Regions from separate parts of the Homo sapiens genome. Here all the other regions are linked to region 1. The links are contacts of gene promoters, found by promoter capture Hi-C in blood cells and fetal thymus (Javierre and others, 2016). All regions are on one chromosome and are shown on one strand. The core of a region is centred on a gene start or on the middle of the fragment in contact, and the rest is flanking DNA. Distances in the headings are between cores, read along the strand shown.

Region 1 (3,440 bases), core at 249-2,748:
TTTGTCTTAAAACCTATTACAAAAATGGAAAGGAGGCCAAATGCTGTACCTATCTGGTAATGTCGCTGTTATCTGTGAAACCAACTACAAATTATAAAGCTTAATTAAGTGTCCTTGAGTCTTCATCACTGTAATTCTCCGATGCTTCATCAATATTAACACAGGGCAAAGTATCGATTGCTACTCTAGTCTTACTCATCAACTCATTAATTCGCTTCAAATCTCACAACTAAAATGCTCTTTCAATGATGTTATTGCACTGTAATTTGTATAAGGTACACTCCACGAAATACTGTCAATACATTTTATTGTGAGCATCTAATATGTGTCAGGGAGTGTGCTGACATTGGGTAAAGAAATTCATGTATTAAACTAAAACTTCCTCAACATCCATTACCAAGAACAGATCCTGCCTCAGTTTACTATCTGGCAGGGAAGGCAGACATTTAACAAGCAAATACAATTTCCGTTTTCAGAAAGAAGTCCATGTGAGATCTCAAGAGACAAGTAATCAAGGATCAGGGTGAGGAGGGAGAATGCAATCAGGCAAACAACTTGAATATCATCTGATAAATGTTATACTTTGGCCAGCATGTGGCCAAAGTACTATTAAAATTAAAAAGTGAGAGTATTTCATTCTCTGGAGGCTTGGGGAAAGCATCAGAAAGGAGCAGACATTTTCAGGGATGAATAGGCTTACACTAGGCTTAATAAAATGGGTGCCAGTAACGGTGGCTGTGATGGTACTCAGAAAGGAATTTCTTCTCGAAAACGCACGTATGGCAGGGATGGGGGATTCCAAGTACCAGCTGTGACGCATGGATGACCGTCATACCACTCTCACTGATTCTTTAGCTTCCTAGTCAAGCACCATCGTAACTAGTTGAACCAGTCGAGTGGGAGTTGATATTTCAGATCAGACCTCGTATGTTTCCCTCAGAGTGTAGAATTGCCATATAAATAACAGGATGTCTAGTTAAATTTACATGTCCGATAAAAAACGAATGTGTAGTGAAGTCCCCAATATTTGGTACATGCTTGTATTAAACATCATTTGTGCTTTATCTGAAATTAAAACTTCATAGTTTCATCTGTTTTGACTTTTTGTGTATTTTTATTTATTTATCTGGCAAACGTCCCAGAGCGGTAAGAACCGGCACGGTTTTGCCGTGGCACAGCTGATTACAAACAAAAAGTCTCTCCAATCAGAAGCAAGCGCGCAGAGAACTGGCGTCCGGAATAGAGACGCTGTAACCAGGAAACCAGGGTGAGCACCCACCCTACCGTCGGCCGCTTCTAGGAGACGGGCGCAGGCGCGCGCTGACGTTACATCTCGCGCTTAAGGGTGGGGACGACAGAGCGTCTCTCTCGGACGTGACCTCAGCGCCTCTTTGTGATTGGCTGCCTCGGGGGCGCGGCCCTTGGGCGCGGACGCCCTAGATTGGTGCTGCGGAACAGCAGGGAGGGACTCCGGCTGCAGCCGCGGGAGGTCCGGACACTGGCGGCCATGGAACTCACCGGTGAGTGCGCGTCGCGCCGCCCCTCTCCAGCGCTCTGGGCCGCTTTCGGATGGGGCTGTTCTGCGCGCGTGGGATCGTGGCGGGTGGTGGAGGGGGTGAAACCGACCCGGTTCGAAGCCCGGAAGTTGGGTCGGAGGGTCTCCAGAGTAGGTTGGGGCTGAGGGTGCGTTTAGGGCGGACGCGCTGGGTTCCTTGGCTCAGGCGGGTGGGTCGAGGGACTGGGGTCTCCGGAACCCCGGGCCTGAGACCAACGTCCACTCTTTGGTTGTTTTCTTTCTCTCTTTGGGCCTGGCCATCCCCGCCATGAACCCAGCGGGGTCGCTGTCTGAGCAGGGGTATCCCCTCCTTGGCCCGAGCGTTTCCCCAGCGACCTCTCAGGGAATCAGGGAATGAAGCTCAGACAGTGCCCAGGAATTGTCGGTGGAAGTACCATTCTCTTGACCCACAACTCCTGCCAGGTCTCCCTAAGGTTCTTCAGGAACCTCTACTGCTAATGATTGCCCAGGGCTCGTTGGTCGTGGTCGAGAATTTTACGGTAATGTCTTTGCCACTTTAAGTGGCTGGGTGGGAACCTTGGACAAATCACTCAACTTGTCTGGGTTCTCATTTGTAAAACGAGAGAGGTATTCACTAGAGCTCCAAGCCTCATTTCGGCTTTAAGAGCTAAGATTCTGCGATTGTGCAGCATAATGAACTTTTATGTCAAAGATGTTTGGACTGAAAACCTGGCGGAAGTGGGCAGACTCCTCACAGAACGTTGCAGGCTAATGACAACATTTTAAATGATATCATTTGGTTCATTACTCACTGTTTTTGCTATCGTTCATCTTTTAAAACTGGTAGAACTGGAAGTTCGGGTTTAGGTGACCACAGTAAGAAAATGTTAGTTAAGCCACCTAAAAGTACAAACTTGGGGAATTTCAATATTTGGTAATATTGAATCTTAATTAGTAAACTCAGTCAACAAACACTTCTGGGGTCTTTCCGAGAGTATATTTAAAATGTAGATGAGGCCGGGCACGGTGGCTCACACCTGTAATCCCAGCACTTTGGGAGGCCGAGGCTGGTGGATCACCTGAGGTCAGGGGTTCGAGACCAGCCTGGCCAACATGATGAAACCCCGTCTCTACTAAAAATACAAAAATTAGCTGGGCTTGTGGTGTGCGCCTGTAATTCCAGCTATTCAGGAGGCTGAAGTGGGAGAATCGCTTGAACTCGGGAGGCAGAGGCTGCAGTGAGACGAGATCGCTCCACTGCACACTAGCCTGGGCAACAGAGTGAGACTCCGTCTCAAAAAAAAAAAAAAAAAAAAAAAGTAGATGAATTTGTTGGAGAGACTAGACAGTTAAGCCTTTGCACATACAGTTAATTGGCATTTTCTGAGTTTGCAGGTGAAACCGGAAACTCAGAGCTTTAGGATGGCTTCTCATTGTATAGTTGTTTGTTTTCTGGAGCCTTGGAAATCTCATTTGTAAAGCTGAGGAAGATTTTGACTAGATATCCAAGATTCTTTTTAGCTTTAAGTGTCTAAGAATGTACAGTAGTACTAAATATTGAGTGGGCATTTCACATTAATAAAGCTTTAGGGGACCCCTGAGATAAACATTTCGCACTTTAAATTGAGAAAATGGTCCCAGATACAGCCCATCTCTAGTTTAGCCTTTATCTTTAGACACCGCACTGAAGGGAGGGACACTCATTGAGTTTGAAAGGCCTGCATAACTGATAGAAAAGTTTAAAAAGTGAAGGGAGCAGTTACATAATCACCCTCTTTGGTTTTTGTGTTTCTGTTTTTTGTTTTTGTTTTGTTTTGTTTTTTTGAGATGGAGTCTCGCTGTGTCACCCTGGCTGGAGTGCAGCGGCGCGATCTCGGCTCACTGCAACTTCGGACTCCCGGGTTCAAGCGGTTCTCCTGCCTCA
Region 2 (3,440 bases), core at 587-3,086, 1.7 Mb after region 1:
TCATCGGCATAGTGAGACATAAGCATTAAACATTGAAGCGTTGGTCGGTGCTGCTTCCTTTATCTTTCGTTCTTGCACCGCGTGGCCTCATGACTCATTCTCATGGACTGACACTATACACACCACCCACAGCTGTCCTTTCATGATATGACCTGGCATGCTGCCAGGAGGGCCTATTTATCAACAGTGACAATATAAAGGACAGCCATGTTCTCTTCTTAGTCTTCAGTGGGAGACACATTTGGCCAGAAGTATACCGTTCTGATTTACAGTGCCCAAGAGAAGCGCTTTGCCATTTCAGCCTCATTTTCTCACAAAAACCTAGTACATGGAGTTGCTGCACTATTTGGCTCATATAATAATGTTTTTTTTAAAAAAAATTTTAGTCATTTATTTTTGAGACAGAGTCTCACTCTGTCACCCAGGCTGGAGTGCAGTGGCGTGATCTTGGCTCACCGCAACCTCTGCCTCCTGGGTTCAAGCAATTCTCCTGCCTCAGCCTCTCGAGTAGCTGGGATTACAGGCAGGTGCCACCACACCAGGCTGATTTTTTTGGTATTTTTAGTAGAGATAGGGTTTCACCATGTTGGCCAGGCTGGTCTGGAACTCCTGATCTCAAGTGATCCACCTGCCTCGGCCTCCCAAAGTGCTGGGATTACAGGCGTGAGCCACTGTGCCTGGCAATAATGTTTATATTAGTTGTTCTTCATTTCAAACCTTGACTCAGACCCCACCTAGGTTTCTGGTTGCTGAAGAGAATGAAGTTGTCAACTCTTTTGTCGTTATGAGAGTAGATCTATTACACTGGTATGTGGCCTGGGATAATTACATGTACTCGATCTCAGATTTGCATGATGGGGTTCATTCACATGGTGGGCTTTGGTGAGTTTGGACCACCCAGCTTCAGCACACCTTCCAAACAGCCAATCAGGTGCCTATTCTGCCCTAGCCAGGTGGCAGCCAGATGACCCCAGCTGGCCCGATTGCACATCCTCCCTGGAATGTGAATTTTAAGCAGAATGATGTGGAGTCTAAACATGGTGAAAGATCATTAAGATGAGGGTGGTGTCCTTATGAGACCATTCCTCCAATGGCTCCTTTCCCACAGTTCTGCTTCTAGCCCAGCGGCCCATTTCCAAAGCTGGCTGGCTGGTCTCTCCCTCCACCTGTACATTCCTGCTATCCTTACTATAACTTCCCTCTGCTGGGTCTGTTTTGGTGGCTTGCTAACAGTAAACACTAACTGACACAGCCTGTCTTAATATGGCTGTGTGATTTGAGGGACATCAGAAGAGAACCCCTGACCTTACCATGGTGCTAGAATTCCTTTCTTACTCATTCCTTTGGATGAAGACATTGAAAGCTGCTATTATAAAACAGCAACTATTACTTAGGAAAGGTTACACTTGAAGCTGTTTATTTGCTATGCCTGAGTTATATTGTAAGGATCGTCTCCCTTGTCAGAGACCAATGGAATGGGACATAGGATAAGTAAATGTTGATGGGGAGAATTGGGAGGGAATGAAAGGTCTGCAAGATTGGATTCTTCGAGATCTTAAGGGTGACTGAATTGGAAGGTTCTGGGTACCCAGAAAGAAGCATGAGTTCATAAAACACCAGGGAGGAGAAGAAATGGAGCAAAGAGGGAGTAGGAGGAGATCCTGGAAACAGCTCTGCTGTTTGCCTGGTGGCAGCCACACACATGCAGTCACAAGGGGGCACTGCTGGAACTCTGAGAGAAGACTCCAAAAAACTGATGCAAGTGGAAAGCCGTTCACATTCATCAGGAGAGCTGGGTGAGGATAGCCTGGACTAATCCTAGGAGGAAAAAGACTTTTAAAAGAAGTAACAGGGATAGAAAAGGGAGACGTAGAAACTTCCATCATTGTCCAGAAAGACTAATAGATGTGGGGCAGGTGAGAGTTCCAGGCTCTTGAGCAGCAGGAATATTTCCTCAAACTTCAGCCCCTGGGCCCGTTGAACTTCCTCTCCAGATTCCCATGCCATTCACCTCCAGCAGCCTGGATGGCAGGCCAGTGAACACCCACAACAAAAGTCATCCGTGGCTGGATTATACCTGAGTCTGTGTAGCTTCAGCCACAACCTACCTGGCGCTGAGAGCTGAATTCACTCTAGGTGTCCCGAGTCATTCAGCACAATGTCAGACAGAAGAGGTTCATCTTAAGGGGTAGGGGGAGTAATACTTTTATTTTTGAAAGAAGTTCTTACTGAAGTATGACACATATATAGAAAAGTCAGTGTACAAATCGTAAGTGTACTGCTTGTTAATTTTCACAGTGAACATGTCCATTCAAAAGGCACCATGAAGCAGAATTACCAGCCCCCCAGAAATTCTCCCCTTGTGTTCCCTTCCAGCATCCCGCCCCCACCACGGGTAAAAGCATAAACAGAATCCCAACTTTACCGCTATAGATTAATTTTGCCTGATTTTGAAACTTAAGTAAATGGAAGTGTACAGTATGTACTTTCTGGCTTCTTTTGATCAATTACATATTTTTGAAATTTGTCTGTGTTGCTGTGGGCAGCGTTAAGCTATTCATTCTCATGTCTTCATAGTCCTTTATTGAATGAATACACTACAGTGCATCCATTCTAACAATGGACATTATGGATATTTGGGTTGTTCCACTGGGACTAATACAAATAGTGCTACTATTCATTTCTATTAGGTATATACCTAGCAGTGGAATTCTGGGTTGGTAATGCTATTTTTGGTCATAAATGATGACCAAAAATTTTAACCATAAATTGACAATGCCAAGTCTCTTGTATGATTTGTGTACCTGAAAAAGGCAATTTCAAATGTGTTTTGAGCAACATTGTCATTAAAATAAATATATAGGCCGTCAAAGAAATTATTGAGAAAGAAAGGGTAATTAGCTCTTACCTAATGACATTCAGCACTCTTAGTGGCCACAGAGTGGAGGAAACCAAACCAAACAAACAAATAAGACAACATAGAAATGTAAAACAATTTATATGACACTACCAAATTGATTAAAGATATACACAAGATAATTATTTTGGTCAAAAATATGCATATGTAACCCCTCTATCTTATGCATATGTAACCTTTCTGTCTTAAGCCCACTTAGGGGCAGCTCTTTCTGGCCCCAGGCAGACTCACCACCACACCATACTACTGCCTCCCAAGATGTAAGTCTATACTACTGCCTCCCAAGATGTAAGTCTATACTACTGCCTCCCAAGATGTAAGTCTATTTTACATCTATAAATCATTTTACAGATTTTTTTCATGTGCATATTAATACTAGAATTTTTTATGAAGCATAGATATGACATTTAAAAATGCCAGATTTCTAAAAAGGTCAACCTAGAACCCCATTCTCCACACACAAAAAGGACCCTTGCTTGTATGTACAAAAATCCCAAAGTTCATATTACCTTACCATTCCTTG
Region 3 (3,440 bases), core at 704-3,203, 1.7 Mb after region 1:
ACAGGTAGAAATGTCAAATTATTTATGCAAATTCAGCTAAAGATGTACTTTAAGTAAAGGTCAGTATAGTTTATTTGGTTAGTAAAATATGGTTTACTTCTTGAGTTAAGAAAAAAGAAATGATGTGAAAGAAGCCAGACACAAAAACCTACATATTGTATGGTCCCATTTGCGTGAAATGTCCAGGATAAGCAGATCCATAGAGACAGAAAGTAGGTGGCGGTTGGGGGGCTGGGGGCTGGGAAGAGGGTGGAATAGAGAGTGGCTATTAACTGGTACTGGATTCCTTCTTGGGGTAATGAAAACATTCTGGAATTAGATAATGATGATAATCGCACAACTTTGTGAATATACTAAAAGCCACTGAATTATAACAAAAATAAATGCATATAAACTTTAAAAAACTCGTGAGTTACAAATAGTGTTTATGTATATGATTTGGGGAAAATTATTTTCAAAGAGTCACTTCTAGAATTACTAACATATAGCCAAGTACAGTCTGTAATGCATGCTAACAGACAACTAAGTCAACAACCACAAAATCACCAAACAATTTTAATAACCTTTTCAACTATATTCCTTAAGTACCTGCAGGGTCTTCCGGCAAGTAAAACAGTGAACAAATAGAATTTTTTTAATCTCCTTTTCTTTCTAACAATGCTATTGAACATTAAAACAGAAAATAACACACAAGAAAGGGAAGGATTATAAGACAATTGAACAATTAGCTTTATAATAGAGTTTGAGCATATATGGCCTAAGACTTTATAGTATATGTGAGGTTTACTCAAAGATACTACATACATGGAGAAGAAAAGCTCCAAAATGTTCTGGGGAAAAAAAATGCTCTCTCTTTTCCAATTGCCCATTCTTTCCACTCTCAAATTGTTTTGCCTGTCATAAACTACAATCACTCCCTCTGAGCTTGTTTTCAATCTTTTTTAAAAATTTTTTATTTATTTTTTATTTTTTTGAGATGGAGTCTCGCTCTGTCGCCCAGGCTGGAGTGCAGTGGCGCGGTCTCGGCTCACTGCAAGCTCCACCTCCCGGGTTCACGCCATTCTCCTGCCTCAGCCTCCCGAGTAGCTGGGACTACAGGCGCCTGCCACCACGCCTGGCTAATTTTTTGTATTTTTAGTAGAGACAGGGTTTCACCGTGTTAGTCAGTATTGTCTCAATCTCCTGACCTCATGATCTGCCCGCCTCGGCCTCCCAAAGTGCTGGGATTACAGGTGTGAGCCACCGTGCCCGGCCTAATCTTTTACCTAAATGTGCGTATGTGTTGATCTGTCATATTCCTGGCTCTTCCAAATTTCTTAGGTGCACTCATTCAACAAATATTTCTTGAGGGCACTCTGTGTGCCAGAACTATTCTAGGGGCTGGAGATAAGCTGTGAACCAAAAAGACAAAAATCTCTGACCCCGTGAGCAAGAGCAAGGCATTGTATTTCTTTCTTTCTCTTTCTTTCTTTTCTTTTTCTTTCTTTTCTTTCTTTCCTTTCTTTCCTTCCTTTCTTTCCTTTCTTTCCTTTCTTTCCTTTCTTTCCTTTCTTTCCTTTCTTTCTTTCTTTCTTTCTTTCTTTCTTTCTTTCTTTCTTTCTTTCTTTCTTTCCCTCTCTCTCTTTCTCTCTTTCTTTCTTTCTTTTTTTTGACATGGTCTTGCTCTGTCACCCAGACTGTAGTGCAGTGGCATGGTCTTGGCTCACTGCAACCTCCACCTCCCGGGTTCAAGCCATTCTCCGGGGCCTTGGGCTCCCAAGTAGCTGGGATTACAGGCACATGCCACCATGCCTGGCTAATTTTTGTATTTTTAGTAGAGACTGGGTTTCACCATGTTGGCCAGTCTGGTCTCAAACTCCTGACCTCAAGTGATCCACCCACCTCGGCCTCCAGTGCTGGGATTACAGGTGTGAGCCACCACGCCCAGCCAGGGCATTGTATTTCAATGGTGAATAAGCTCTATTAAGGCATGGTCAAGGACTTCATGTCTAAAACACCAAAAGCAATGGCAACAAAAGACAAAATTGACAAATGGGATCTAATTAAACTAAAGAGCTTCTGTACAGCAAAAGAAACTACCATCAGAGTGAACAGGCAACCTACAAAATTGGAGAAAATTTTTGCAACCTACTCATCTGACAAAGGGCTAATATCCAGAATCTACAATGAACTCAAACAAATTTACAAGAAAAAAACAAACAACACCATCAAAAAGTGGGCGGAGGACATGAACAGACACTTCTCAAAAGAAGACATTTATGCAGCCAAAAAACACATGAAAAAATGCTCATCATCACTGGCCATCAGAGAAATGCAAATCAAAACCACAATGAGATACCATCTCACACCAGTTAGAATGGCAATCATTAAAAAGTCAGGAAACAACAGGTGCTGGAGAGGATGTGGAGAAATAGGAACACTTTTACACTGTTGGTGGGACTGTAAACTAGTTCAACCATTGTGGAAGTCAGTGTGGCGATTCCTCAGGGATCTAGAACTAGAAATACCATTTGACCCAGCCATCCCATTACTGGGTATATACCCAAAGGACTATAAATCATGCTGCTTTAAAGACACATGCACACGTATGTTTATTGCGGCACTACTCACAATAGCAAAGACTTGGAACCAACCCAAATGTCCAACAATGATAGACTGGATTAAGAAAATGTGGCACATATACACCATGGAATACTATGCAGCCATAAAAAATGATGAGTTCATGTCCTTTGTAGGGACATGGATGAAATTGGAAATCATCATTCTCAGTAAACTATCGCAAGAACAAAAAACCAAACACCGCATATTCTCACTCATAGGTGGGAATTAAACAATGAGATCACATGGCCACAGGAAGGGGAACATCACACTCTGGGGACTGTTGTGGGGTGGGGGGAGGGGGGAGGGATAGCATTGGGAGATATACCTAATGCTAGATGACGAGTTAGTGGGTGCAGCGCACCAGCGTGGCACATGTATACATATGTAACTAACCTGCACAATGTGCACATGTACCCTAAAACTTAAAGTATAATAATAAAAGAAAAAAAAAATCAGAGGCCAGGCGTGGTGGTGGCTCACTCCTGTAATCCCAGCGCTTTGGGAGGCCAAGGCAGGTGAATCACGAGGTCAGGATATGGAGACCAGCCTGGCCAATATGGTGAAACCTCGTCTCTACTAAAAATACAAAAAATTAGCTGGGCGTAGTTGCAGGTGCCTGTAATCCCAGCTACTCAGGAGGCTGAGGCAGGAGAATTGCTTGAACCCGGAAGGCAGAGGTTGCAGTGAGCCGAGATCATACCACTGCACTCCAACCCAGCAGACAGAGTGAGACTCCATCTCAAAAAAAAAAAAGAAAGAAAAAAATCAGAAAGGGTGCTAGGGAATGTAGGAAGAGGCCAGGGAAAGCCTCACAGCCCCAGGTGACATTTGAGCTAGGG
Region 4 (3,440 bases), core at 692-3,191, 1.6 Mb after region 1:
ACCAAGAAAGAACAACTGTAGATGCAAGACAGCAACAAAATTTAGAAAGTGGAAAGCAAATGGTCCGGGAGTGACAGAGTGAAGAGACAATGAAACCTAATGCGGAAAGCAGCAGCCAACAATGAGAAAGCTGATTCCCACCAGAGAACTGGAAAAGAACTGAACAGCACACGGGCACTTCTCGAGACTTCTCCAGACAGGCCGGGTCCGGAGGCTCGAGGGGTCCCTGAAAGGCTGTAGATTCCATGACCCACATCCCTGTGCTACCCTAGCAGACCCACTTCCTAAGGAATTGCACCCAGCAGAAAATGGAGAGAAAGCACAAAGGAAAGTGGAGCTGGAGGGACGATTTGCACAGGAAACCTGAACTGCAGTCTCTTTCCTGTCTGTCCCTCCCCTCAGCTTAGCAACTAAAAGGGTAGCATCCCAAAACTGCAAAGCTCTGGGGGAAATGAGGGGCCCAAGGGAAAAGCTTACAGATACTGGAAGGGGGGATGGAGAATTAAAAACGGACTTTGATGCCTTTTCTCCTCACCACTATACCTTGTAGTCCATAAACTAGAGCCAATAATACCAACTTCTAATCCTGAGGTTCCCAAACTGCATGCTGAGGTGCCCCAAAGCATCACGGCAAATTCACAAGGGCAGGGTGGGCTATTTTAAATTTCTGAGGGAAACATAGATACTTGACATTTGTAGGGCACCCCACTGGAGGGGAGTTAATTAGATTGCACTGCATTCCTTTCGATGACATCATATCTTCATGAAGCTAGGTTTTCCAGGACTGCTGTGATAAAAATCAAGTACTGGGCACAAATTAAAGTGGATTATGAGGGTGGCAACTGTTTGCTCCCAAACAACTATTTTTAAATGTTATTTAAGAATACTAGCACTCATTCCAAAGAATGTTCTGCATTCACCAATGGGTAGTCCTCAGGCAGTTCTAATCTGACTTCCAACCACATTATGTATGTATTTCCAGGTATATACATCTGATCAAATACACAGGTGTGAAACTGCACAGACCAGAGCAGTCACCTAGCTGCATAAACACTCCTATCTGTTAGAGTTCTGCACAGCAAGTTGTAGAAACAGAGGTCTGTAAGGCTTTTTTTTTTCCCAGGTTTTTCTAACTCTGAGAACATAGACAGTCTTATGGGCACTAACCTTTTGGAAATTACCTTAGCTTCTGTACCCAAAAATCTAATCCAATTCACAGGAACTTGAAATTAAAATACAGTAGTCAGTTCAACTCCTTTATACTGTTTTGCTCTCTGTCACACTTGAATAAAGAATGTGGCAATGAAATGAATGTGTCCAGTTGTTCTATAGTGTTTCTCCATCCCCTGTCAAACAACAGAATATGTTTGTACGAGTCAGGCCTAAGACAAAAGTGGAGTCTGTGTCCACAGACTCCCAGAGAACTCCTGGAGAATGCAATGAGCTGGCTTCCATGCAGCCAGAATGTGAAGCCTGAACAGCCTGTTTCACTTCTCCATTTTTTTTCCAAAATACACACCCAGTCTCTCTCCACCTCAGGCAGATCTAGCTGTTACCTTACATTCATTTACACCTAGTCATCCTCACTGTATTCATAATAAGCAACATAATAACAACGCCTGAACTCACCATGGTCAAAAATTAACAAAAGGATTTGAAAAATCCAGAATGTGGAAATACCCAGAGCACACAGCTTCACAACATGCACAGTACCAAGAGTCATGGTGAGAAACAGAGATTTCTCCTCCAAGTTATCTAACTAGCCCTGGCACCCCTGGGCTCTCTGGCAACACGGCCTGGGACCGCCTCCGACCTCCCTCCCCTCTGCCTACACACCTAGGTGGCTCCACGTCTCCTCCCTCAGGCATCCTCGCCTTCCAATTGCATCATAGCTTTCCACCAAACTCCCTGAAACATTTTTTGAGTTCACCCTCACTCCTCTACAAAAAAGTCCTTAATAAATGTTCTCTGTTGATGGCCTACTTAGTCACAAATCCTATTCTCTTATGCTTGGTTCTGACTGAAGAGTCTATTATCTATACACCTTTCAAGTTAGATGCGTTGCCCAAACACACACACACTTCCATTTGGCTTACTTCCTCCTCCTGCTGCTTAACACATTGCCTGGGCAGAACTACTTGGAAGCTAATAATTTGCTGCCTCTACTTTGTGACATATAATCTCCTAGAGATTATGAAGCACAGCCATCTCATTTTACCCAGAAGGAAATGTGGTGACCTAAGTTGGCTGGAGGAGCAAGCCAATTAATGATCAAACAAGACAACTCTAGCACCAATTTATCTCGACCTTTCCCAGAATAAAACACGTCACTTTTGTTAGATTCCATGTGTATGCACTAGCAATCATTTTGAGGTGTGTAACTCAACATCCTCCCTACCCCACAGCAGACAACTCCTGATAAGAGGCAGAGAAATCTATTCATCAGCAAAGAACGTGCTGTGCATTGGCATGAGTCAAAAACCAAAGCTACCGACAAAAAGATGCCATGTTGATTGCGTGAATAACACTCAGTGATGCCTAAAAAGAGATGCGATCCTTTTTGACTGCTCCAGTCAACCACTCCCTCCCAAAGTTCACCTAACAGTTAATACTGCCACCAGAATGAAGCAGTACATATTTTGAAAGGCCTGATCTTAGACAGGCATGAAAAAGAGACCAGAAAACACCAGAAAGTTATGGAAAAGCCATTAAAAAATTCATCATTTCTTTCTCGATTCCAGTGATAAAATGCAGGCATAACTATTTGTCTGGTGAGGTGAAATTTAAGGATGAATTTTATGCTCAACAAGAATGGCTTCTCAATTTGATTCTTGTAAATATTCACACGTGGTTAACCGTACAAAACTATAACACACACATCAAGTTTTCCCCATTTTATTTAAGTCTGCCCACAGTAAACACCATGACACAGGTACTTCTGTGCCGAGTGTGGAGTTGTTTTCTTTAATTATTGTTATTTTTTTAGCGACAAGGTCTCACTCTATCGCCCAGGCTGGAATGCAGTGGTGTGATCATGACTCACTGCAGCCTTGAACTCCAGGGCTCAAGTCGTCCTTCTGCCTCAGCCTCCAGAGTAGCTGGGACATGCACCACCACACTGAGCTAGGCTAATTTTTTTTTTAATTTATTTTTTGTAGAGACGGGGGTCTCACTATGTTGCCCAGGCTGGTCTCAAACTTCTGGGCTCAAGTGATCCTCCTGTGTGGGTCTCCCAAAGCGCTGAGATTACAGGCATGAGCCACCACACTCAGCCTGTTTTGCTTTTTTTTCCTGTTTTGCTTTTTTTTAATGAACACCTGGCCCCTGTCCTTGAGTAGCCCAGGCAATAAATTCTGTTCTAGGATGATGTCAGAACCTAATCTTATGACTGTGATTGGACTGTAAGCTTCAGGAAGGTTGGGACTCCCCACCGCCCTTCT
Region 5 (3,440 bases), core at 329-2,828, 1.6 Mb after region 1:
AATTTTTGTATTTTTAGTAGAGACAGGGTTTCACCATATTGGTCAGGCTGGTCTTGAACTCCTGACCTCGTGATCTGCCCGCCTTGGCCTCCCAAAGTACTGGGATTACAGGCGTGAGCCACCGTGCCCAACCATGAAATATTTTTACTTAAAAATTGGGAATAAGCTCGCTTTTTTTTTTTTTGAGATGGAGTCTTGCTCCTGTTGTGCAGGCTGTAGTGCAGTGGCACGATCTTGGCTCACTGCAACCTCCACCTCCCGGGTTCAAGCAATTCTCCTTCTTCAGCCTCCCGAGTAGCTGAGATTATAGGCGTGCACCACCACACCTGGCTAATTTTTGTATTTTTAGTAGAGACAGGGTTTCACCATATTGGTCAGGCTGGTCTTGAACTCCTGACCTCGTGATCCACCCACCTCAGGAAGTGCTGGGATTACAGGCGTGTGAGCCACCACGCCCGGCCATGAAATATTTTTACTTAAAAATTGGGAATAAGCTTTTTGGTTTTTTGTGGGTTTTTGTTTTTGTTTTTTGTTTTTTGTTTTTTTGAGATGGAGTCTTGCTCCTGTTGTGCAGGCTGGAGTGCAGTGGCACAGTCTTGGCTCACTGCAACCTCCACCTCCTGGGTTCAAGCAATTCTCCTTCTTCAGCCTCCCGAGTAGCTGGGATTACAGGCATGCACCACCACACCTGGCTAATTTTTGTGTTTTTAGTAGAGACGGGGTTTCGCTATTTTGGCCGGGCTGGTTTCAAACTCCTGACCTCAGTTGATCCACCCGCCTCAGCCTCCCAAAGTGCTAGGATTACAGGCATGAACCACCGTGCCCGGCCAGGAATAAGCTTTTGACTTACCCAATTCAGATAGGTTGATCTTTGGGGTTTTTTTTTTTTTTTTGAGATGGAGTTTCGCTCTGTTGTCCAGGCTGGAGTGCAATGGCAGTTGTTTCACCGTAACCTCTGCCTCCTGACTTCAAGCAATTCTCCTGCCTCAGCCTCCCAAAGTGCTGGGATTACAGGTGTGAGCCACCGTGCCCGGCCCAGATAGGTTGATCTTAATGTAACAACCCAAAAATAAATGTCATAGTCAAGATTTGGTAGATAAATTTAAAATTAAAATATTCTGCAGTTGGGAGTGAAATGTGATAGCACATACGTTGACATTATGCATTTAGAGATGTTATAAAAATGTATAGGCAGTATACACAGCACTACTCAAGAAGCCAAAGAAACACTTGTGCAGTGCTAAGTGTCACATGTCTGCTTCCACCAGAGGCTAGGAATAGTGATCCTGCTATAATGTGAGAACCCAAATCATGTTTATAAAATAGGACGCTGGGAGCAGTTGCAGGCCACAGTGAAGTGTGTTGCTTCTGTCACTTTATATTCTTATATTTCCTTTCCCTCAGACAGTAAACTGTTGATACTCGTACTTGTAAAAAATTGTAAGGCAATTTTTAGTATTGTTGTCAAAGAAAAGCTTGGATTACATTAACATTTGTATTCAGTCTTTTAGGTGATACACCAGAGGGGGCTGGGAATTGTCTCTTTGTTCCTATAAGTAGATCTTAATGTAAAATAGTAAATGTCCATTGAAAAGCAAGTAATACAGCCTGTGCTAATTGGGAGCACTTGAACAATTTTGTTCCATTCTGAGTAACTTTTGAGCAAGTAATTCTAAGCTTTGTCTTGTATCCTTGTGTGAAATTGCATAATTTTTACCCTATTTGATTTCTTAAATAAAGATGTTTGCTCAAGATCGTGGTAGTTTAATATCCATTTTTAAAGTGCTGCTTTCGTCCTATTTCTCCTATTGATAGTCTAGTCTGCAAACTAATATGATGTCTTCACCTGTTATAGAGCTCAGATTGACTCAAACTAGATGCCAGAGCTTTGGGAGCAGAAAAATTTACATACTCATCTAGAAATCTAGGAGTAATTTCAGCAAACGTGTATTTTTTTGTATATAGTTGGCCCCTCCCTCAATGAGCATATCATCCAGAGGGCTGTGATGCAGGGCAGCCAAGAGCAGCAGGGTGATTGATTGAGAGCAGGAAGACTTGGCTCAGCTGCACAACAGTGGTACCCTGAAAATAGCCTTTTCTCCAGGCTGGTGAAGGTGAGGTAGGCACTAGTAACACACTTGTGAGTATATTACTAAAGTTAAATGCCAAATTTCATGTGTGACTGAGTCTTCAAAGGAGCTGGAAGGGAAGTGGAGCATTGAGTGGGACCTCCAAGGTAGGCTGCACAGGAAAGCATTGCAGGTGTGAAGGTGTGAAGAGCACTTGGGCACATGGGTGGAACTGACAGCTGATTGATTGATAGATAGATAGGAGCTGATCATGAGGAAAGCTAAGCTGGCAAAGCTTGGATCTGGTAGGTGATGTTCCTTGAAGGTTCTGGAACACAAGAGCAATGGGGTGAAGTCAGTCTTAAAATCAGGCTCTCCTGAGCACATGTATGTTAGCACAAAGTTGGTTATCTGCTTTAGTGCTCCAAAAGTGATCCAGATAAAACGTACACCGAGTTTTGTCATCTTGCCATAGCCAGAAACTTACTAGGATGCTTCCTTTGGCATGGACATAGATCGTCTCAGTCTCTGCTCTGCCCATGCTATTACCCATGTGCTTTAATTTTTCAGTCACTTCAACACTTCCTGGTTGACAGTCCAGAGTTCCAGAAACCACTGACTCTCCAGACACCACCTTTCACTGGGTACCACACTGGTGTGTTTTTCTACTTAACAAACACTTCACTACTCTACAAGACACGGATATTGTGTGAGAACTTGCATGGTGGTGTCACAATATTAAAATGAAAAGTTTGTACAGAAATATAAAAAGGTTTTCTTCTAAGACAAGTAATAGTAGGAATGTTTTAACTTCAACTAGGAAACTTTCCCCAAGGGTGAAAAATAAAAACATTTAGTCCATTAATGAATTGTAATTTTGTATCTTCCACACAGCACATTGTAATTGTTACATCAGTTAACAAATGCAGGTTTGTCTGTTCTCCAGTTCAGTAGTTTGCTTTTTTTTTTTTTTTTTTTTTTTTTGAGGTGGAGTCTCACTGTCACCAGGCTGGAGTGCAGTGATGTGATCTCGGCTCACTGCAACCTCCACCTTCCGGGTTCAAGTGATTCTCCTGCGTCAGCCTTCCGAGAAGCTGGGACTACAGGCACGATGCCCAACTAATTTTTGTATTTTTAGTAGAGACCGGGTTCACCATGTTGTCAAGGATGGTGTCGACCTCTTGACCTCCAAAAGTGTTGGGATTGCAGGCGTGAGCCACCGCGCCTGGCCTTGCCTTTTTTCTTAAAACCGAACTGTATCTCTGCTGGGGGCAGTGGTTCACTCCCTACATGACAGTCAGCTCCTCTCACCCAGCATGTCCTTTGATATCCCCATCACTCCCCAGTTGAGGGTCTCATCCACACTCAGTC
Region 6 (3,440 bases), core at 465-2,964, 1.6 Mb before region 1:
GCTAGGACTACAAGCGCATGCCACCATGCCCGGCTATTTTATTTTGTGTAGAGACAGGGTCTCACTATGTTACCCAGGCTGATCTCAAAGTCCTGGCCTCAAGCAATCCTCCCATCCTTGGTCTCCCAAAGCACTGGGACTACAGGCGTGCGCCACAGCACCAGGCTGACATTTTATTTTTGGATGTTATATTTCAAGTCTTTTCTCAACCAAATAAAAACTCTGAAGTGTAAAAACATTCACATGAGAACATAAGCTCCATGAAGACAGAGATTGTGTTGGATTCACTATTATAACCTCAGCACCTAGGACAGTACCTGACACACATCAGAAACTCATATACGTTTTCCACCTAGTGCTAGAATCCTGCTGTTAAAATAAGTCAGCAAAGGAAAATAAATACTCTGTAAAGAAACCAATGCATTGCTGATGGGAACGCAAAATGGTACAATCACTTTGGAAAGCAGTTTGGCAGTTTCTTATAAAACTAAATATACTCTCACCATACAATCTAGCAATCATGCCCCTTGCTATTTACCCAAATGAGTCAAAAGCTTATCTCCTGCATGTAACAAAAAAGGCTGCATACAGATGTTTATAACAGCTTTATCCATAATTGCCCAAACTTGGAAGCAACCAAGATATCCTTCAGTAGGTGAATAAATAAATTGTAGTACATGCAGACAATGGAATATTATTCAGCACTATAAAGAAATGAGCCACCAAACCATAAAAAGACATGAAGGAATTTTAAGTGCATAGTACTACATGAAAGAAGCCAAAGTGAAAAGCCTATATACTGTATGACTCCAACTATATGACATTCTAAAAAAGGCAAAACTATGGGGACAGTAAAAAAAAAAAAAAAATCAGTGATTGCCACATGTTAGTGGAGAGGGAGGGATGAATCAATAGAGCACAGATTTTTAGAGCAGTGAAACTATTCTGTATGATACTACAATGGTGGAACCGTCATTATACATTTGTCCAAACCCACAGAATGTACAACACCAAGAGTGAGCCCTAATATATAGACTTTGGGGAATAATGAGGTGTCAATGTAGGTTCATCAATTGTAAAAACTCTATTATTCTGATGTGGGACGTTGAGAGTAAGGAAAGCTACGGGTGTGTCGGGGCAGGGGATATATGGGTACTCTGCTAAATTTTGCTGTGAACCTAAAACTGCTCTGAAAAAAAAAAATAGTCTATTAAAAAATATGTTAAGGCCAGGCATGGTGGCTCACGCCTGTAATCCCAGCACTTTGGGAGGCTGAGGCGGGTGGATCACCTGAAGTCAGGAGTTCGAGACCAGCCTGGCCAACATGGCAAAACGCCGTCTCTACTAAAAATGCAAAAATTAGCCGGGAGAGGTGGCGTGCGCCTGTAGTCCCAGCTACTCAGGAGGCTGAGGCGGAAGAATCGCTTGAACCCGGGAGGCAGAGGTTGCAGTGAGCCAAGATCACGCCACCGCACTCCAGCCTGGGCAACAGAACGAGACTCCATCTCAAAAAATAAATAAATAAAAAATAAGTATTTTTATAGACCATTTACTTGTGGTAAGAATGCAAGATTCTCACTCTTCCTGGAACATTATTATGGTAATCTTAATTGTATGCTTATTAAGAGGAAAACCTGGTTGTTACCATAGAAAATATCAGGACTGGTTAGTGCCTCCAAGATTTGAGCAGTTATACCTGTTGGGGCACTTAAATCTCAACTTACAGGTTCCTGTTTAACAGAGAAAGGGTAAAAACATCTACGTTTGTTTTAAAGAATGGCTAATACACTGATGGGGTAATGCAAATTAAAGTGGATGGAGCATACACACACCACCACCACCACCACCACCACCACCACCACCAAAGTGATGGGTGAAAATTAGGTGTCTGCTGGTTGCTGACTTTGTTTGACTCTCTTAGGATCACATGTCCAGGATGCCTTCAATGTTCATTTTCACCTGTACCAAGAATATTGAGTTATGGTAATTTTGTTGGATTAAAGGTGGATGATGTGTTTTGCTTTGCTAGGCTGAATAAGGGAGCTTCGAGCTCTGAGAGATTTACTCCAAGCAATCTCGCAGGGATGTCCCCTTTTGCCAGTATCTGAAGCAGTCTTTTGCAAGCAGATTTCAACTGGACATCAAAAATATAATCTCATTCACGCACAGCCACTGTGCCTTGGGTCCTTTTAAAACTATATGTACCTCAAGAAAGCATGGGTTCTAACATCAGGAAATCCTTCTTCCCAATTCCTAAAGAGGCATCAACCAACATATTCAGATTTACTATGCCCACCTCCTCTTATCCGATGCATTACTGACAACAAAATAAGCCTTAATAGGTACCCAGCTGTCACTTACTTGCTGCATAGCCTCAGTCAATTATTCCTCTTTCAGCTGGGAAGCAGCTACAGCACTGAATAAATGTATTATGCTCGGGACTATTCTGAGGGCCTCATGTAATAGCCACGGTTTGTGTTTTAAGACACTGACTTTCTCTTTACCTGATCCAGCTCAACTACTCATCAGCAATGGCAGAACTGTCTACATATCAAGGACTTCTTTAGGGATAAACAGCCATGCTAAGTTCTGTGAATACTAGTTACAGTTTCAGAAATCCCAAATTCAAAAGGGTGAAAGATTACAAAGTGTCTAAAGTTATGCTCACAAACATATAGCAGTAAAAACACTCCAGCAGTATAAAACGCAGTCTTAAGCAATTTTTTTAAAAATACGTATGAACACAATGACATTGCAAGTGAACCATAAAACCCTCAGTTCTCCTTTGAAACTAGATTTTAAAATACCACTCGCCACTCTAAATATTCCATTGGTGTTAATAACATTCATACTATTGCTTTTAGGAAAAGCTTCATTTCACGTTTTGAACCTGATATTAACAGTCTTATCACCATGAAGTGCTGGTGACATGAAATGACAGACAAAGGCTTATCAAGTAGTCTTTCTCCAAGCTCCAAGGAAAGCACAAAACAAAAACAGCGTCTGGTATGTATCATCCCCTAGTACTTTTCCAAGTATAGAACAGCCAAAAGGTGGTAGCTATGACATCCCTTACCTTTCAATTCTATTTCAAGTCCAAGTAATGATAGATGGGAAACTACAGCTGTTTCCCATGGTGGACTTCTGAAGTCCACCTCTAATCTCAAATGGGAAATTTGGTTTTGACTTGACAAACGTCCTCTTGCAGTCCCGTGTCCCTGTTCTGCAACTTGTCATTAAGGTTTTCGATTTAATATTAATATTTAGAAATATGTTATGGGCAATTACATATAGTAGATACTTATATATTACAACTACATAGAGAGGACAACATTCAGCCCTGGGCCTCGAACCCTACGGACACACACACCCTTCAAGTTGAAATCCCAGCAAGGCACCCTGAGAACCCACTCAGGAGAGGGAGGGGCAGGAGCAGCGAG
Region 7 (3,440 bases), core at 289-2,788, 1.6 Mb after region 1:
GGATATTAAGTATAGGAAAAAATTCTGCCACTTCATCACACCTCTGTGGACTGTTGGAGAATATAACCAAAATATTCAACAACAGGGGACTGCTATATACATTACAAAAATATCCAAAGATAAGCCTGTTGCCACTGAAAATGAAGATTTCAAAAAACTTTTAAGGAAACAGGGAAATGCTCACCATATAATTTAAATTAAAAAAGGATACATACACAGGATATAGCTACATATTTTAAACGTAAAATATGCTTTTGAAATGCATATTTCAATGAAAACACGTTGAGCTAATCCTACTCCTGGCTGTTAATCCAAATATAAAGCATACTAATAGGTATTTTCTGCCCAAACTAAACATTCATACATTTCAATATAGTTTAAAGATAAAATTTTTCATTTCCCAAACTATTATTAAGCAGTACACTAGTATTTTCTATATGGTGTCAATGTCCTTCATCCAAATGTATTACAAACCCACTTATTAATTTAGGAACCTATAAGCCATATTTATAAAACAAGCCTAATCTTACTGTGTTCATTATACAAATATTTCCTTCTCCTATCTTATTGTCAGTTCAATTAATTATTTGAATATGCTCCTTTAAGACGACTCAAACTCAACATTTTCTCAAACATTTTCAAGAGACTGTAATGTTTCAGGATACAGAGTTATTCGGGAATATAAAAATGTAATTCACCAATACAATCTATGTATCATACGATTATTAAAACCTAAACCTTGATTGAATTTGAACTACCTGTTACAGGTTACACTTGTAAAAGCTGACACAGATACGCCTAAATCCGATACCTTGAGTGTATCCAGTATACCCCGATCCTTAAACGTCTGGTATAGCTTTTTGCGCAGTTCATCTTGACTCAACACATCAGCCACGGTAAACATGTTGGACTAAAAGACAAAATGGTTATAGGTTACCTGCGGGGCAGAGGGAACGTGAACGTCTGAAAACAGACCAGTGGCCTCCGGGGAAGCCATAAGAGGCCTAGCGGCGAAAGTTTAACGAACACAAAACAAGACTTTATTTCCGCCCGAGAAGGGGCAGGTGTGTCTACCTGCGCCATCATCAGGCGTCAGCTCCCTCCGGAGCCCGCCTCGCTCGCCCCGCCGCGGCCCGAGTTTAGTGCCCAGCCCGGGCGGTGGGGCCAAGACGAGGGGGAATCCCTGCCCTCAGAACCCTGCCTCTGTCCCGAGGGTTCGGGAGGAACAAAGGTGCTGAACGTTCTCTGCCTCGCACTCCCAACTAGGTTTTCTAGCAAACACGCGAGCTTCCTTTCTTCGCGGTTCTGAGGCAAGGGCGAGGACCCAGGCACGACTCAAAGGCGGCTGGAGGGCGGGGACCCAGACACTAGGGACTGAAGGCAGCGAGGCAGGACCGCCTCACAGCCAGTCCGGCAACTTCCGGAAACCTGCTAAATATAGCCTTCCCGAGCTGAAGAGCTACGGCGCATGAGCTTGGTTGCCCAGCACCGGCCGGAAGCTCCGCCTACGTATCGCGAGAGCACATCCCAGGGTATCGCGAGAACTGCTTCGGCGTTCTGGCTACAGGTTCGGGGCGCGGGTCTCTTCCGCGGAAACTGACATTGCGTTTCCGTTGTCGGCCTCCCACTGCAGGTAGGGAATGGAGCAAGTGCGGCGGGGGGCGGGTGTTTTGAGTCCCTGGAGGACTTCGTAGCCCCTGCGTGACGCGGATGTTGGTCCTGTACCTCCACCCCTCCCCGGGGTGGCCGGGCCGGACCTGCCAGCCCTCCGCTGGCTCATCCGCGCAGCCCTTCCACCTGCAGACGTCCGCCCTCTCGGGGGCTGTGGTTTCGCGGTTCACTGGGTCATTCAGCTAACCCAGGGTTTCTTAACGGCTGCACTGTTGCCTTTTGGAGCCGGAAGATTCTTTGTTTTGGGAGGCTGTCCTGTGCATTGTAGGTTTAGCTGTATCCTTGCTCTCTATTTTGTCAGTATCACCTTCTCCCCCAAGTGTGACAACCAAAGATGTCTCCAGATATTGCCAGATGTCCTCTTGGAAGCAAGATCGCTCCGGGTTGAGATCCACAGAGCTAAACGTTTTAGAGTACCAACCATTGTGTGCTGTGAGGTAAAGGTGAGCCAGTCCTCATGATGCTTAAATGTAATTAGAAAGGAAAGGAACCAAACCTCTCAGAAGCGATAATGAAAATGTTACAGCCAGAGAATTGAACAAGAACTAAGATACATTGTAGACTGGATAAAGAGTTTAAAGGGGAGGTGGTTGAAGATGGAAGTGATCCAGATCATCTCTGTGGAAAAAGTGTGTCTTTATCGGGGCCTTGATGGGTAGGATTCGGGTGGTGAGCAAAAAGGAGAACATCACAGGAAGGGGAAAAATGAGCAAAGGAATCATTAAAAGAAAAAAAAAAGCCACGACCTTCTTGGGAGCAGTGAGGAATCTAGCCTGACTCCAGAGTTGTGTGCTGGGAATATAAGCCTTATATGGTATCTAAGTCCTGTGAGGACAGAATTGGATGTCAGCTTTGTGTACAGCATTGAAGATGAGTACGATGAGTTTTGATCTCTGGCTGTGAAAAACTTAAAGTATTTAAGAGGCAGTAAGAGTGACAGGACTTCATAGGAGGTGGAGAACCTGTAAGTTTTTGTTGGAAACAATGGAAAAGGAGGAGAGGCTTAGTTGGATTTTAAAGGATGGGTAGTGGTTGCAGACAGAATAAAGGAGAACATTCCAGGCATGAAGAGAGAAATGATAGTAGCTCTGAACTCGATATAGTCAAAGTGAATTTGGGAGAAAAAATAAGTAAACGAGTCAACGCTAGCAGAGGTGGAACAATAGGGCTGAGAAAAGACACGTGGAGCAATGTGGGAATCTTGAATACTAGTACATGATCCTGTAGCTGAGATGCATCAAAGGCTTTTGAGTGGAATGATGAAAACAGTGTTCTAAAAAGATGTTGATATGTTGTAAATGTTGTTAAGTAGAATCACTTGTCCACTGTTTAAAAAAAAAAAATGTTCCTGAAGACCCCCTTACTCCCACCTCCACCTTTGGTCCCACAGTTGAATACATGAATATAATTAGATAAAATGTTCTCCAAAAACTAGCATAACTTCTAGGGGAGGGAGAATTGCTTATAATATTAATAGAAAAATGTCACATTAAAGACCTATCAGTAGTATTCCTACTGCCCCTCCTCATTGTAATAGACATGTCCCATGCCATACCAGTTTAGTCTCATGACCCCAGGTTTATGGAACAACTGAAATCACTGCTCTCGCGAGCACAGGGCAGTTTTTCTAGAAGCTCTTCTATAGAGGTTGTAAAGAGGCATGCTACAAAAATGGATGTCTTTGGAACTGGAGTCCATGAGTTTTATCTTGCATTTGTCTACAACTTAAGAGACTTCCAAGTTCACTGAGCATCCTCCCACTCTGGCAC

What was found. The method cuts DNA at HindIII sites, captures the fragments that hold promoters and counts their contacts. A CHiCAGO score of 5 or more calls a contact.
Region 2: a contact is called between a fragment that was not itself captured here and the fragment with the promoter of PIGA in region 1, in 4 of 17 cell types (naive CD8 T cells, total B cells, non-activated CD4 T cells and 1 more). The highest score is 8.7, in naive CD8 T cells.
Region 3: a fragment that was not itself captured here is called in contact with the fragment with the promoter of PIGA in region 1 in 4 of 17 cell types (non-activated CD4 T cells, naive CD8 T cells, total B cells and 1 more); the score reaches 6.8 in non-activated CD4 T cells.
Region 4: a fragment that was not itself captured here is called in contact with the fragment with the promoter of PIGA in region 1 in 5 of 17 cell types (non-activated CD4 T cells, naive CD4 T cells, neutrophils and 2 more); the score reaches 10.3 in non-activated CD4 T cells.
Region 5: a contact is called between a fragment that was not itself captured here and the fragment with the promoter of PIGA in region 1, in 1 of 17 cell types (non-activated CD4 T cells). The highest score is 5.5, in non-activated CD4 T cells.
Region 6: a fragment that was not itself captured here is called in contact with the fragment with the promoter of PIGA in region 1 in 7 of 17 cell types (non-activated CD4 T cells, fetal thymus, activated CD4 T cells and 4 more); the score reaches 9.4 in non-activated CD4 T cells.
Region 7: the fragment with the promoter of TRAPPC2 here is called in contact with the fragment with the promoter of PIGA in region 1 in 13 of 17 cell types (fetal thymus, non-activated CD4 T cells, naive B cells and 10 more); the score reaches 19.7 in fetal thymus.

The regions. Positions count from the first base shown.
Region 1 is chrX:15,333,581-15,337,020 of GRCh38, reverse strand. It overlaps PIGA (phosphatidylinositol glycan anchor biosynthesis class A), which reads left to right and starts at 1,498. Exons shown (of 6, transcript NM_002641.4): 1 at 1,498-1,520. RefSeq lists enhancers at 1,567-1,646, 1,697-1,746. The HindIII fragment of the contact is 3,001 bases long and covers 102-3,102 here.
Region 2 is chrX:13,644,518-13,647,957 of GRCh38, reverse strand. No RefSeq gene overlaps it. Among named protein-coding and RNA genes, the nearest start is that of TCEANC, 6.9 kb to the left of the region's middle. The HindIII fragment of the contact is 5,934 bases long and covers 1-3,440 here.
Region 3 is chrX:13,673,617-13,677,056 of GRCh38, reverse strand. No RefSeq gene overlaps it. Among named protein-coding and RNA genes, the nearest start is that of RAB9A, 14 kb to the left of the region's middle. The HindIII fragment of the contact is 4,024 bases long and covers 1-3,440 here.
Region 4 is chrX:13,691,855-13,695,294 of GRCh38, reverse strand. All of the region lies in intron 1 of RAB9A (RAB9A, member RAS oncogene family), which reads right to left. Among named protein-coding and RNA genes, the nearest start is that of RAB9A, 4.4 kb to the right of the region's middle. RefSeq lists a silencer at 3,037-3,233. The HindIII fragment of the contact is 2,934 bases long and covers 475-3,408 here.
Region 5 is chrX:13,710,557-13,713,996 of GRCh38, reverse strand. It overlaps TRAPPC2 (trafficking protein particle complex subunit 2), which reads left to right. Exons shown (of 6, transcript NM_001011658.4): 6 at 1-1,752. Among named protein-coding and RNA genes, the nearest start is that of TRAPPC2, 22 kb to the left of the region's middle. The HindIII fragment of the contact is 202 bases long and covers 1,478-1,679 here.
Region 6 is chrX:16,947,494-16,950,933 of GRCh38, reverse strand. All of the region lies in intron 1 of REPS2 (RALBP1 associated Eps domain containing 2), which reads right to left. Among named protein-coding and RNA genes, the nearest start is that of REPS2, 2.6 kb to the right of the region's middle. The HindIII fragment of the contact is 2,316 bases long and covers 557-2,872 here.
Region 7 is chrX:13,732,718-13,736,157 of GRCh38, reverse strand. It overlaps TRAPPC2 (trafficking protein particle complex subunit 2), which reads left to right and starts at 1,538. Exons shown (of 6, transcript NM_001011658.4): 1 at 1,538-1,633; 2 at 1,973-2,114. OFD1 (OFD1 centriole and centriolar satellite protein) reads right to left here and starts at 1,410. Exons shown (of 23, transcript NM_003611.3): 1 at 1,075-1,410; 2 at 812-910. The coding sequence starts at 1,086. RefSeq lists enhancers at 497-1,068, 837-2,036. The HindIII fragment of the contact is 7,868 bases long and covers 1-3,440 here.